4 separate regions of the Homo sapiens genome follow, and regions 1, 3 and 4 are each linked to region 2. The links are contacts of gene promoters, found by promoter capture Hi-C in blood cells and fetal thymus (Javierre and others, 2016). All regions are on one chromosome and are shown on one strand. Each heading gives the region's core, a stretch centred on a gene start or on the middle of the fragment in contact. The rest is flanking DNA. Distances are from core to core; before and after follow the strand shown.

The links. Contacts are between HindIII fragments. The CHiCAGO score rates a contact against its expected background, and 5 or more counts as called.
Region 1: a contact is called between a fragment that was not itself captured here and the fragment with the promoter of SEC24D in region 2, in 2 of 17 cell types (activated CD4 T cells and fetal thymus). The highest score is 5.9, in activated CD4 T cells.
Region 3: a fragment that was not itself captured here is called in contact with the fragment with the promoter of SEC24D in region 2 in 3 of 17 cell types (total B cells, naive CD8 T cells and non-activated CD4 T cells); the score reaches 7.2 in total B cells.
Region 4: a contact is called between a fragment that was not itself captured here and the fragment with the promoter of SEC24D in region 2, in 1 of 17 cell types (naive CD8 T cells). The highest score is 5.4, in naive CD8 T cells.

The regions. Positions count from the first base shown.
Region 1 is chr4:118,267,464-118,270,286 of GRCh38, reverse strand. No RefSeq gene overlaps it. Among named protein-coding and RNA genes, the nearest start is that of SNHG8, 9.9 kb to the left of the region's middle. The HindIII fragment of the contact is 3,524 bases long and covers 1-2,823 here.
Region 2 is chr4:118,834,506-118,837,736 of GRCh38, reverse strand. It overlaps SEC24D (SEC24 homolog D, COPII component), which reads left to right and starts at 1,611. Exons shown (of 23, transcript NM_014822.4): 1 at 1,611-1,796. RefSeq lists enhancers at 1,449-1,743, 1,364-2,255 and a silencer at 1,448-1,937. The HindIII fragment of the contact is 6,235 bases long and covers 1-3,231 here.
Region 3 is chr4:119,478,627-119,481,638 of GRCh38, reverse strand. It overlaps the pseudogene SEPTIN7P14. Among named protein-coding and RNA genes, the nearest start is that of LINC01061, 69 kb to the right of the region's middle. The HindIII fragment of the contact is 2,457 bases long and covers 137-2,593 here.
Region 4 is chr4:119,531,050-119,534,093 of GRCh38, reverse strand. The region is part of intron 11 of PDE5A (phosphodiesterase 5A); the gene reads left to right. Among named protein-coding and RNA genes, the nearest start is that of PDE5A, 96 kb to the left of the region's middle. RefSeq lists an enhancer at 1,371-1,980. The HindIII fragment of the contact is 2,764 bases long and covers 108-2,871 here.

The sequences.
Region 1 (2,823 bases), core at 99-2,598, 570 kb after region 2:
ATACTGAATTCATCAATTAGAGATTTAATTCATTTCCTACTGTCTGAAGTAGTTAATACACTGTTAATGTGTTGTATATCAAACTAGACAATGATTCTGTTGGAGAAATAAAATATTTCTGCCCAGTCTACTGGAGGGCAAGAATGTAGTCATATTCATCTTACCTGCAGTAGTACTTTGGAACATGCTCAATGAAACGTTTGTTGAATGAGGAAGCCAGGATGATAAAAGTGAAAAAGAATTCTGGGAAATTATACATAATGTACAGAAGGAAAAATGAATGCAGGGTAGTACATTTAAGCAAAACTGGCAAACTTTTTTGAATGTAGCTTAGTATATTACGGCAAAGTCGACTAACTCTTTTGGCCTCAGGCACATCTTACCTCTCTCTTTGCCAAAAAGTTTAAATTAAGTCTCCCCGCTGCAATAGGACTATATTTCAAATTTTATAATGGAAATCATTTCAGAGAGAAAAATTCTATGGCAAACTTTGAAACTAATTCCTATTAGTTAGTATTTATAACTGGAATAGGTCTTCACTGTCTCTACCAAAAAATACAAAAATTAGCCAGGCGTGGTGGCAGGTGCCTGTAATCCCAGCTACTCAGGAGGCTGAGTCACGAGAATCACTTGAACCTGGGAGGTGGAGGTTGCAGTGAGCCGAGATTGTGCCACTGCACTGCAGCCTGGGTGACAGAGTGAGACTGCATCTCCAAAAAAATAGAAAATCAAAAACGTAAAATAAAAGACTTCAGATGCTATATAAGAATAAATCCAATTTAAGTTAAATGATGAGAGCACATAGACACATAGAGAAGAACAGTACACACTGGGCCTACCTGAGGGCGGAGGGTGGGAGGAGAGAGAGGATCAGGAAAAATTACTATTGGGTAGTAGGCTTAGTACCTGGGTGATGAAATAATCTGTACAACAAACTCCCATGAAACACATTTACCTTTGTAACAAACCTGCACATCTTGCACATATACCCCTGAATTTAACATAAAAGTTTTTTTAAAAAAACATGCTATGGCTGATACATGCTATAGATGAAACTCAGAACCATGTCACTAAGTGAAAAGAGGCCAGACACAAAAGACTACATACTGTATGAATCTATTGATATGAAATGTTCAAAAAAGGCAAATTTACAGTGACAGAAAACAGATCAATGGTTGACTGGGGCTGGGTTGGGGGCAGGGCTTATCTTCAAATGGGCATGAGGAACCCCGTCTATCAGCCTTCTATCTGGGTGTCAGAGATCTTCTGACATCAGATCGCCATGATGGCTATTCAATTCCATTAATGACTCAGCAGTTATGAGATGTACACTTCACCTGGGTGAGTTTTACAGTAGCTAATCATACACCCTCAAAAGGTCTATTTAAAAAGTCATAAATGAATAGATTAATTTCCACCTTCCTGGACAGTGCTCAACCAGCCTTTCCATATTCACTCTTTAAAGTTCACTCTGTCACCGTGTATTCTACCTGTAACCTGTTTCTGGATTCTGCATGCTAACATTGCGTTGAGAATTGTGCCTCTTTATTCAGGAATATGATTGGTCTATAGATTTGTTTTCTGCCATCTTTGTAAAATTTCAAACAAAAAGTTTAAAATAAATGTCATACTTACACTATAGAGAGAAAAATAAATATATTTCATCTCCAAATGAACAATCATTAAAAAAACCTTCAACTGAATATGTAAGACGTGTTAGTAGTTATTTCTTAATTATATAAGTAAAACTATAGAAAACTAAGTAGAATAGAACCAGATAAGTGACTTTTGTATTTCTCTAATTTAAAACCCTTTTATCAGGATGATAATTTATGTAAATGGGCAGTATTTCTTAGAAAACAGAAGGTCTAGAAAGAAATCTCTGCAATTGAGGACTTAAATTTGATAAAAGCCATACGAATTTTGAAATACCCACCATTCTTTATAGCACTGAACAGAACTTACTGAAAAGGACTAAGAAAGTAAATTATATAAAATAACACAAAAGGGTTCTGAAAATAATTATTTACAGTATCTTTTTTTTTTTTTTGAGAGTCTTGTTCTGACGCTCAGGCTGGAGTGCAGTGGCAGATTTCGGCTTACTGCAACCTCCGTCTCCAGAGTTCAAGTGATTCTCCTGCCCCAGCCTCCCAAGTAGCTGGGATTACAGGCGTACGCCACCACGCCTGGCTAATTTTTGTACTTTTAGTAGAGACGGGATTTCGCCATGTTGGATAGGCTGGTCTCCAACTCCTGACTTCAGGTGATCTGCTCACCTCAGCCTTCCAAAGTGCTGGGATTACAGGTGTGAGCCACTGCACCTGACTACAATTATTTACAGTCTCTAAGGGAGATAGTAGTAATGGTGATAACTAATGTTTATTGAGTACTTATGTGCTCATTAACTCATTTAATCCTAACAATTGTATGAGCGCTATACAATTATTGTCTCTAATTTACAGATGAATAGATTGAGGCACAGAGAAATAATGTAATTAACCTAAGGTTTGAAGTGGATTTGAATGTAGTCTCACTGGCTCAGAGCCCATGCTCTTAACTGGTGTTGTGTGTAAAGGGAGAAAAATGATACTAGGTATAAAATAAGTCTGAGCTTTGCTACTTGTGTGACCTTGGGAAAATTATCTATCCATTCCAAACCTGTTTCCTCATCTGTAGAAGGAAACCAGCAGTATCTTCCTTTTGGTATTATTGTTAGGATAACTTATAAGAATTATCTGGTAATTATCATTTAAAAGTTAGAGGTTTTGTTTTTTTGTCCTACATTTAATAATTATTTTGCTAATTTTAATTATTATTTAAAAT
Region 2 (3,231 bases), core at 362-2,861:
GTGAGGATGTATTTACAATTCAAAAGTAGTGGTTTTATAGGGGTAACAAGTCAAGCAGGTCATCACATGGTGTGACTGTTTCTGACTTTACTCTCTCCTATCTTTGTATCATAGCTTCACTCGCTCCTTGTAATGTAGCTGTTATATGACAAGTTCTTTCACTGCTTTTACAAGCTGTACTGCTTCAACACCGGCCAAAACTTCCTAAACTTCCACTGAACATTTTCATCACATTGAGAATACAAGAAACAATTTAAAACAAAAATTTCAATGTGGGTTTTCAAACCTGATCAGTGTTGAAGCTGGATGTAGGCCAGATATCTTACCTTAAAATCTTTTTTTCTTTTTCTTGAGACAGGGTCTCACTCTGTTGCCCACGCTGGAACGCAGTGGTGTGATCATAGCTCACTGCCTCCTGGCCTCAAGCAATCCTCCCTGCTTGGCCTCCCAAAGTGCTGGGATAACAGGTGTGAGCCACTGTGCCTTGCCCCATGCCTTAAAAACTTTTAAGAGTGGGATAAATGGACCATATATCTTTACTGCTAAAATGACTTAAAATTCCTGCACAATTCATGTAGCATTTCGGGAGTAGCAACATCCCCATGTACGTTTTTACCTAGGCAGTTCATCAGTAAAGGTATTTGTCAAGTGGCTTTCTTGTAGCCGGGAAGAAAGTGCATGTTAAAAACAACAACACCGGGCTGGTTTTTACTTTGTAAGTTTGAGCAAAGTGGTAGCTATACCAAACCTGGGAGTGGCTGAATGTCTTTCTATTTAGCAGTGAAAGATGATAGGAAACCAGCCAGATGGTCCTGATTTTAGGGTGAGATAGAGAGGTAAGCTCCAGATCTCATATAGGTTGCCTTTATTTCTGAGCTGTTTCTCACAGGACGGTGAGCTAAACGCTGGGTGCTTTTCCATGCAGAGATTCCTGTTTGGGGCTGGGATCAGCCATCCTACTTCACAAACAAGGAATATGCGGAAGAAGGAGTATACACAACGCTAACAACCCCAATATCAATGGAAACCCCACTTCCCACACTTTTCCTTTGGGACATCTCCCCCACCCCCCACTCCTCCCGCGTTACACGTTGCCAGGCTGCTTTGGGCGTTCCTTCCTCTGTAGTGCATTGCACGGGTACGTCATCAAATGTGCGTGTACACGTGCCAGATTCGCCTTTAAACGGTAATCTCCCCTAGGTCCAGATCGTGTACTTTCCCGTATGTAACGGTAGTGCAGTACCTGAACTATTAGTTATTTAAGTAATACGTAATGAATGAAGAGCTGAAACTGCAACCTGTTGATGGAAGAATGAATGAACGCGCTCCCCTCCTTCCTGCGGGGCTGCGCCGAGAAAATACGGTTCTGATTTAGCCACGACGTTAAAGGCTTTGACCTGTAGGGGGAGGGGAAAGAAAAGACGGGAAAAAGAAAACCAAAAAACAAAAAACCGGAAAAAGGGAAAAAGCGAAAAGGGGGAGGTCGCTCGGCCGCTCGCAGGCTCAGCCCGGTGGCCCCGCCCCGCGGCGGCCGGTGGCTGTGCGCGTGCGCAGGCGGGAGCGCGGCGGCTGGTCCAAGCCCGGCGCTGGGGGCGCGCAGCCGAGAAAGGGTTTGACGTGGCAGTTCCCAGCCCAGCTGCAACTCCGAGCGTGAGTCCAGGCTAAGGGGACGCCGGCCGGGGAAGAGGCGCGGCGGGAGAAGCGACCGCAGCGGGAGCCCGGCCACCGAGGGCTGCCGGCACTAGGCGCAGAGCCGCCAGCGCTCGGAAGCCCGCGGGGTGCGGGAGCGGGAACAGGTAAAGCCTCCCACCCGCGGACGCCTTCATGCGGGACAGCCCTGCCCAGGCACAGCGGAGCGGGTTGCGGCGCCCGGCCCGGGGACGCGGCGGGAGGCCGGGTGCTCACCTGAGGCAGTGGCGGCGGGAGGAGAACTCATTCTTTGTTCTTTAGCCTTCTAGTGCAGTTTAATAGTGGGGCCGGCGGGATGGGGGAGCAGGAGGTGGGCGTGGGCATTTTTTACCCGCCCCCACCTTTTGCCTTGGGATGCAGGAACTGCCTTGTTAGGATCCTCAGTGGCCACCATTCGAGTGTCATTGCCAGCGGTTTTCTCATCTCCTTATCAACTTAATTTCCTTTTTTGAAGGAAGGAAATGTTAGAAATATTCATGGTAAAAATGGCAACTATATCTTGAAGCCTCGGGACATCCGAATAGTGAAACTGATCTGGCCAAATACGAACTTGTTCCAGGGTTAGAAGTGCACCTTGGCTAGAGTTGCTGGGTGACAGTGAGCCAGGGGGCCGTTCTGGGGTTGGGGCTCCCCAGATTTTGATCCTAGGCCTGCTTATACCAAGTGGCTTTCTGCCGTGTCGCCGCTTGAAGCTGAGTCAGGTTTCTTTAACTTGGTGCTCTGTGTGAGGAAGTTTGACGTGGCAAACTGGGTTGCGTGAGGAAGCTGATTCCTCTGAGGACCAGTTCAGAGGGAACTGGCTGCTTCCTGTTCTTTGGAGTGACCATCTCAGCCTCTCTTTTCTGTCACTCAGCAACAGGCTGCTACTTAGGTGTGTTCGTGCCGACTTCCTAAGTGCTCTTGGTTGGATGAGCTTGACCAGCGCTCAGGCTGCCACGTCTCTCTCTGCTAAGTGGGAGGAGGAAAAAGGGGTTGTCAGAAACAAAGTGGACCAGAAGGCCTTTGCCTGCCTCTCTCCTCTTTTTCAGTTCTCCCCTTCCCAGGAGAAGGAAATGATCTCATAATATTTTTACATGGTTGCTTTTATTTTGGAAACTTATAGTTTAATATGGAAACAAAATCAAATCACAAATTTTAGGCTTCAAATTTTTAATTTGAAATGTTATTTCTTGAATATAGACAGATTCTAAGTCTTAGCAGGTATCACTGATCTCTTATCTTAAATTGTAGCAAATAAAAGAACAAAAGGAAGAATATGCTTGTATGGGGCAAATAAACTGGAGATAAATTGTAGAATCAGTGGAAATCTGGAAAGGCTTCATTTTCTAAAAGAAGGAACTGAGGCTTAGAGAGGTTCTTCAGCTCATTCCATGTCACACAGTTAAGTATGGCAGACATAGAATGGAAACCCACTTCTCTTGCATTCAAAGCATTTTCTGTCGTATTTAATTTTTTTTTTTAAATCATCAGTCCTATGAAATATCTCTTATTTTGTTAAAACCTGGAAAAAATAGAAAATTTAAAGCAAATTTGGGTTCTGAT
Region 3 (3,012 bases), core at 116-2,615, 640 kb before region 2:
GAAATATATAATCAAAACATATTAAGTGCCCATTGCAGAAAATACAATAAATAGTGCACTAGTATTGTTATTGTTGTTATTACCATCATGGTGATGATGGTGAAAGATTTCAATCCCAGGGATTAAAATGCAAGCTTTTAGTCTTAGGTATATAAAACTTGCCTATTGAAAACACATCTAGAATAAGTTACACTTAGATTGTGCTTTTCCATTTACCAAGGCCTTTCCCATACACGACCTTGTCTGATCTTTATAGCAGTTCTGCCACATAGGCATTATTTTCATTCCTGACTTTCAGATAATAAAACTGAGTCTCAGAAACTCAGTTGTTTCACCTCTTGTAATCTGCTGAATTGCCACTTGAACCCAAGTTTTTCTATATCAAATCTTGCACACAGCATTACAAAATATTTCCATCCTCTAAGGATTCCAAATGGTCAGGTATTTATTACACAAATTAGTAATTTTCCAAGTGTAGTTCTTAGACAAGCTGCAGCAGCAGCATCTCCTGTTGAAAGTTCTTGGGCCCCATACCCATCTACTGAGGGTGAGGCCTGGGCAATCTGTGCTTTAATCAGCACTTTAAAGTTTGAGAACCACTCTTATAAAACATTGGTTTTTTTGTTAGTTTTTTGCCTAGTTGCTTGCAGTCCCTGGATTAAAGAGAGACAAGACATAACCATACAAAGCAGTTAACTAACGATTCAATGATTACAATAACACTTTTATTAGAAAGGGTCCTATAAGTTTAAACAGAAAACTCATTACAACTTTGTCTTTTTCTAATTATTTAGATTTTTCAGCTCAAAAAAGTATAACATATTCCATCCATGTAGAGAAGAGAGAAGCAAAAACATGAAGGGTTTCGGATTGAATTTCCACAGGGGCAGAACTAGGATAATCATAATTGTTTCCAGAGTTTCTTCTCCTATGTTATCTACAATTGCTTAAGCAGAACTTTGAAAGATTAGTTCCACTATCAGTCCTCTCCCCATAGATCATATCCTTGGAGAACATTTAACTGCAAAAGGCCAGAATGATGAAATTAAGACCTCTCACAGTTGGAACGAAGACAAATTGGATGTGGCATGTCATAGGCTAAGAGGGGCAAAGGGAAAGCAGACATTTTATCTGTTACAGATATTGCTTACTGATAATTCCACAAATTGTTCCTAGGATCTGTAAGTAGAGGGCAAAGATGCTCCTTCTAATTCATCATCCAAGTATGTCCTAATGAGTTGAATCAACATTCAAGAGCAACTTGAGAGGGCAAAGACATTGACCAGCCACCATTCCAGAGGTCTGATGTTCACCACTCATTCCCAGAACCAAGGGATCAGTCCAGTTTTGAAAGGAGCCTTGGGAAAGACTTTGGCAAAATCAATCAATAAATCCCTGAGGCAAAACAATCTGTTCCATGTCTATCACAGAGAGTAAGCATTTCTGAAGAGATTTAGGAGAGAAGGTGAGGTTTAGTGGTGCTTTCATCAGAGGCCAATATCCAGGGTAGGGCTGGTTCCCCAGTCAGCTCTAGACTTTGCTTGCTGCTCTAGTTTGGAATCTCTTCAAAACCTGGGGTAAACACCAGGTGAGAATGGGGCTGTTCCAAATCCCTAGGGAAAGAGTGCTTACTCTGGCCAGGGAACAGGCCCTGGTGGCCATCCTGCCACAGGTATAGTGAAGCATCTTTCTGCTCTGAACTCTGCACCTTAATTAGCCTCCAGGAGCTCTGTGAAGCCTGTCCTCAGCACAGCTGGCAGGTGATTTCATGCCTAAAGAGGCCTTTTCAATGAAGTTACCAGAAGATAATTCTCTGCATTACAGAAAGCAGGGAGAGGGAATGAGGCCAACATTACTGAGGAGTAACTATGTGCCACCCCTTTCCATACATTAACTCATTTGATCTTCATGATAACTGCATTAGGTAGGTGATTTTACACCCATTTTTTAGAAAGGAAAACAAGGCAGAGATGGTTAGTTACTACTCCAAATCACACAGTTTGTAAGAGGCATAGCTGGAATACGAACTTGGGTGTGGCTCCAAAGTCCATACTCTCCTAACTACTGTGTGTTCACAGTAGAAAGGGCCCATATGCTAATTGGCCATCTCTGAGAGAAAAGTCACTTTAAGTCTTTTGCTGTGGGTTGCTACCCAGATATCAATGGAGATTACAGTGTAGACATCACCTGTGCCATCTTTCTTAGCGTGCAAACCATACATACTAATTATGCTGTATTAAGAGAGAACTGTTATGCACTTCTATCATCTAACAAAGACAGCTGAGTCAGGAATTTTCTCATGAATTACCCTTTTTTATGTTGTCTATTCCTCTTTTTCCATTGAAATCTCCTTTCTCTATACTATCACCATACATCCCAGTTAAACAGAAGTCCAGCATCAGTGTTCTTCCATTATCTCTTACATGAGGGAAAAAAAGACTAAGGTGAACCCTTTTACAGAGGTAATCAGAGAGCACTTGCTGCTTGCTTCAGTATAATCAGAGGTAATCTGATTTTACAGAGGTAATCAGAGAGCAATCTGCTTGCTTCAGTATAATCCTCTAAGTGCTCTTTCCTTTGCCCTGAACAAGCTTGATACATAACAGAGTTGATATATATACAAGCTTGATATATAACCTCAGTGATAGTTCAGCCAGTTAATCATTCATTTGTGATGGTCTAAATCAGGAGAATGATTTTCTGTGAAGTTTGTTTAATCATTTTCAAGTGAGCCAAACTAATCCCTTGTGGAAACAAACTCCTTTCTTCCTAGAATATGTATCTATTATTCCCCATTGGGGGTTTATTTAACCATTACAGAATACCTCACTTTGTATTTGTCAACTACAATTTTATCTTTCTTTTTATAAGCTATTTGCAAAACAATTTGGTGATAGAATCCAGTCCTACAGAGCAGAGTTCCTAGGCAACATTAACCCAGGGTATTGCATGCCAGGGCAGAGCAAACAATCTGAAATGAAATAGGAGGAGAGCACTTGTAGGCAGCCAGGG
Region 4 (3,044 bases), core at 240-2,739, 700 kb before region 2:
GCAAGACCTACTAGATTTTCTGTTTGATTCTTTCTGCCTTCATGTGACAAGCTAATCTTGTCTGTTTTGATTTGATTTTACTAGTGGGTTACTTCCAGTGATAAGCTTAGCTCCAAAATATGAGGGCACTGTTCTTGAGCTTCTTCTTTACTAACTACTGTGTATAGTTCTAAACACCATAGTTTTAGTGTCATTTTTTTTATTTGGAACTCAATAACCAAGATGGTAATCAGATCTGTGTATATTATTCCCAATTGCAATCATAAATTTACTCTAAAAGTTTTCTTATAAATGTATGCATATTATATCAGAATCTTAACATTATTACATGCTTTCTATATGATTTTGAAAAACTATAAGCACATTATAAAACTTTCTATAGTCGGTGCCTCTTTCTTATTGAGATTTAAAGGGATTCACTTATATAATGTTAGAAAAAAAGGAAAAATCATATAACATGTTGATGCTGTTATTAAAGAAAATATACTAGTCCAGTCCCACTGTGCCTGATTCATTTCTTTACTGTCTGCAAGATTTACTGAATTTCATACTCATTCCCGTTTTAAAAGTAGTTTTCTTTCTTATCTGTCTTTGGATTCACTTCCCTCTTCGAAAAAGATAAATTCTAAAAGCCTTATAAACTAATTGTGTGGTTTCTTCTTTAAAAACACCCCTCTTGGGCATGCGGAAAGTGGAGAAAAGAGATAATGGTCTTCCATAAGGTGTAATGTGGCAGCTGTCAAGGTGGCTTTATTCAAAGACCTGGAATTAAACTGCTCTCCATTAAGAAGTATCCTGTGAGGTAGGAGTGGTGGTCAGAGCCAATAAGAAGGGCTTAAAACACCTGGCAGGAGATGTCTCCTTACAGCCACTGATATAACCCATCAAATATATAATAAAAATAATTTCTTTAAAAATGGATTATTGAGATTGAAACCTTTTTTCCTGTGGACCATTTATATTGAATAAATACCAAGGAGCAATATAACAAAATACCTTTATACAACACTGAGGCTAATTGGAAGAATTTGACATTTTATGAAAGACCAAGTTCCATTACTGCCATTCTTTTCACACTACTTTAATAAATAACTTTCTGAATAAAGAGCCTTTTCTTTTCTTAGCAGTTGGCTATTAGGAATTGTTTCCAGTTTCCGTAATTTTTATTTTGGCTCTTAAGATTTCACGCTTCAGACCTAAGGCAAGCAGAATGCCTTTGATAGCAGTATGACCTTTTTTTTGTACAAAGATTACACAATTGAGCAAATTGCGTAGCCATGTAGCCACATGTCTTTATTTTCTGCTGAAGTTACCAGAGACTTTGCTGTAGCCTAAATATAGACCTTTCTCATGAGGCATCCACTAAAAATTAGAAACGTAATAATTTTTAAATGATCATTATATTTACTTTACCCAAGTATATTATTTTCTACAAACACATGCTTTATGGTCTTCAAGGAGACCATACATTTTATAAATGTATTATTTTCTATAAAGTTTCTTCTCTATTGAATAAACAAAAAGGCACTCTCTATACTTGTGTAAAAGGGACACAAGTATGTCCCTTTTGTTGTGTGAATGGCCATTATAATGATAAAAAGTTGAACAAAAGAAGGGCTGTCATTTGTCTTAAGTGAGGCATTGATAAAGCTCAGGAAAGATTCTCTTTAATGAAAAAAGTAAAATGTGGACTCACATTCTCTATCATTGTGTTGTTAGGGATCACTTGGGCAAGCTACTAACATACTTCCTTCTGTTATTCCACTTAAAAAATATGTATTTCATTTATGTATCTATCTTTCCCTTCAGGCTGTTAGTTCTTGGTGATAATAATAATAGCTGTCATTTAGTGATTGCTTAACATGAACTTGGTTTATGTGTTTTGTCTAATGATTGAATCAATGAATGAATCAATGAATGGATTCTGGAAAACCCAGACTTTTAGAAAGCCTATAATCTAGCATGAAGGAAAAAGAAACACAGATCAAGCTCCTTCAATACATTTAATAAGATTTTGCTTTCTTTTCCCTTAAAATGATGAAGAAACTAGAAATAATTTGAGAGTTGATTAAATATATAAAACAGCCTACAAACTGGTGATAGAGCCAGCCATGTTGAGGGACACTGAGATAACATTTTCATTGTCAGCTTTCATATTTGTGACTGTAGCAAGATGGAGAGCATTGGGTACTAGAGAGAGAGAGATACCTAGGTTCAAATTCCAGGTGTGTGATCTCAGGCAAATATGTGACTTATTTGTGCTTCAGTTTCTTTCTCTGCAAAATTAGGATAATAAAAGAATTTACCTCACAGAATCAGAGCAAATGTGTTCCTGGTACATTTGCTCCATTAAGTATTAGTTATTGCTCATAGTGGCAATAGGTGGGGGAGGGAACATCAATTTTCAATATCTAGTAGCAATACCATTGAAATCTTTATGTTCCTATGATGTTCCAAGCCTTTTTGCACTAGCGATTCCAATAATAAGCACTCAAAAAATTATACACTCATTTTTTTGGCCAGGCGTGGTGGCTCACACCTGTAATCTCAACACTTTGGGAGGCCAAGGTGGACAGATCCTTGAGCTCAGGAGTGTGAGACCAGCCTGGCCAACATGGTGAAACCCTGTCTCTACTGAAAATACAAAAATTAGCTAGCGTGGTGGCATGCATCTGTAGTCGCAGCTACTCAGGATGCTGAGGCAGGAGAATCACTTGAACTTGGGAGGTGGAGGTTGCAGTGAGCCAAGATTGTGCCACTGCACTCCAGTCTGGATGACAGAGTGAGACTCCGTCTCAAGAAAAAAGAAAAAAAAGAAATTATACACTCATGTTTAAATTAGCTTAAGTTGAATTAGGTAGGTGGAAAGCTTACTGGGGGAAAATATGTCATATTTTGTAAGCACAAAAAAAGTGTAAACTTTTTATTCATAATGTATAACCAGTTCTCTACTTATGGGGAACAATCTGGAATTCACCATTTTCAGTAACTTCCTACGAAAGCAGCTAAAAATTGGAAAACTTTTTGGTCACTGCTTTCTCATC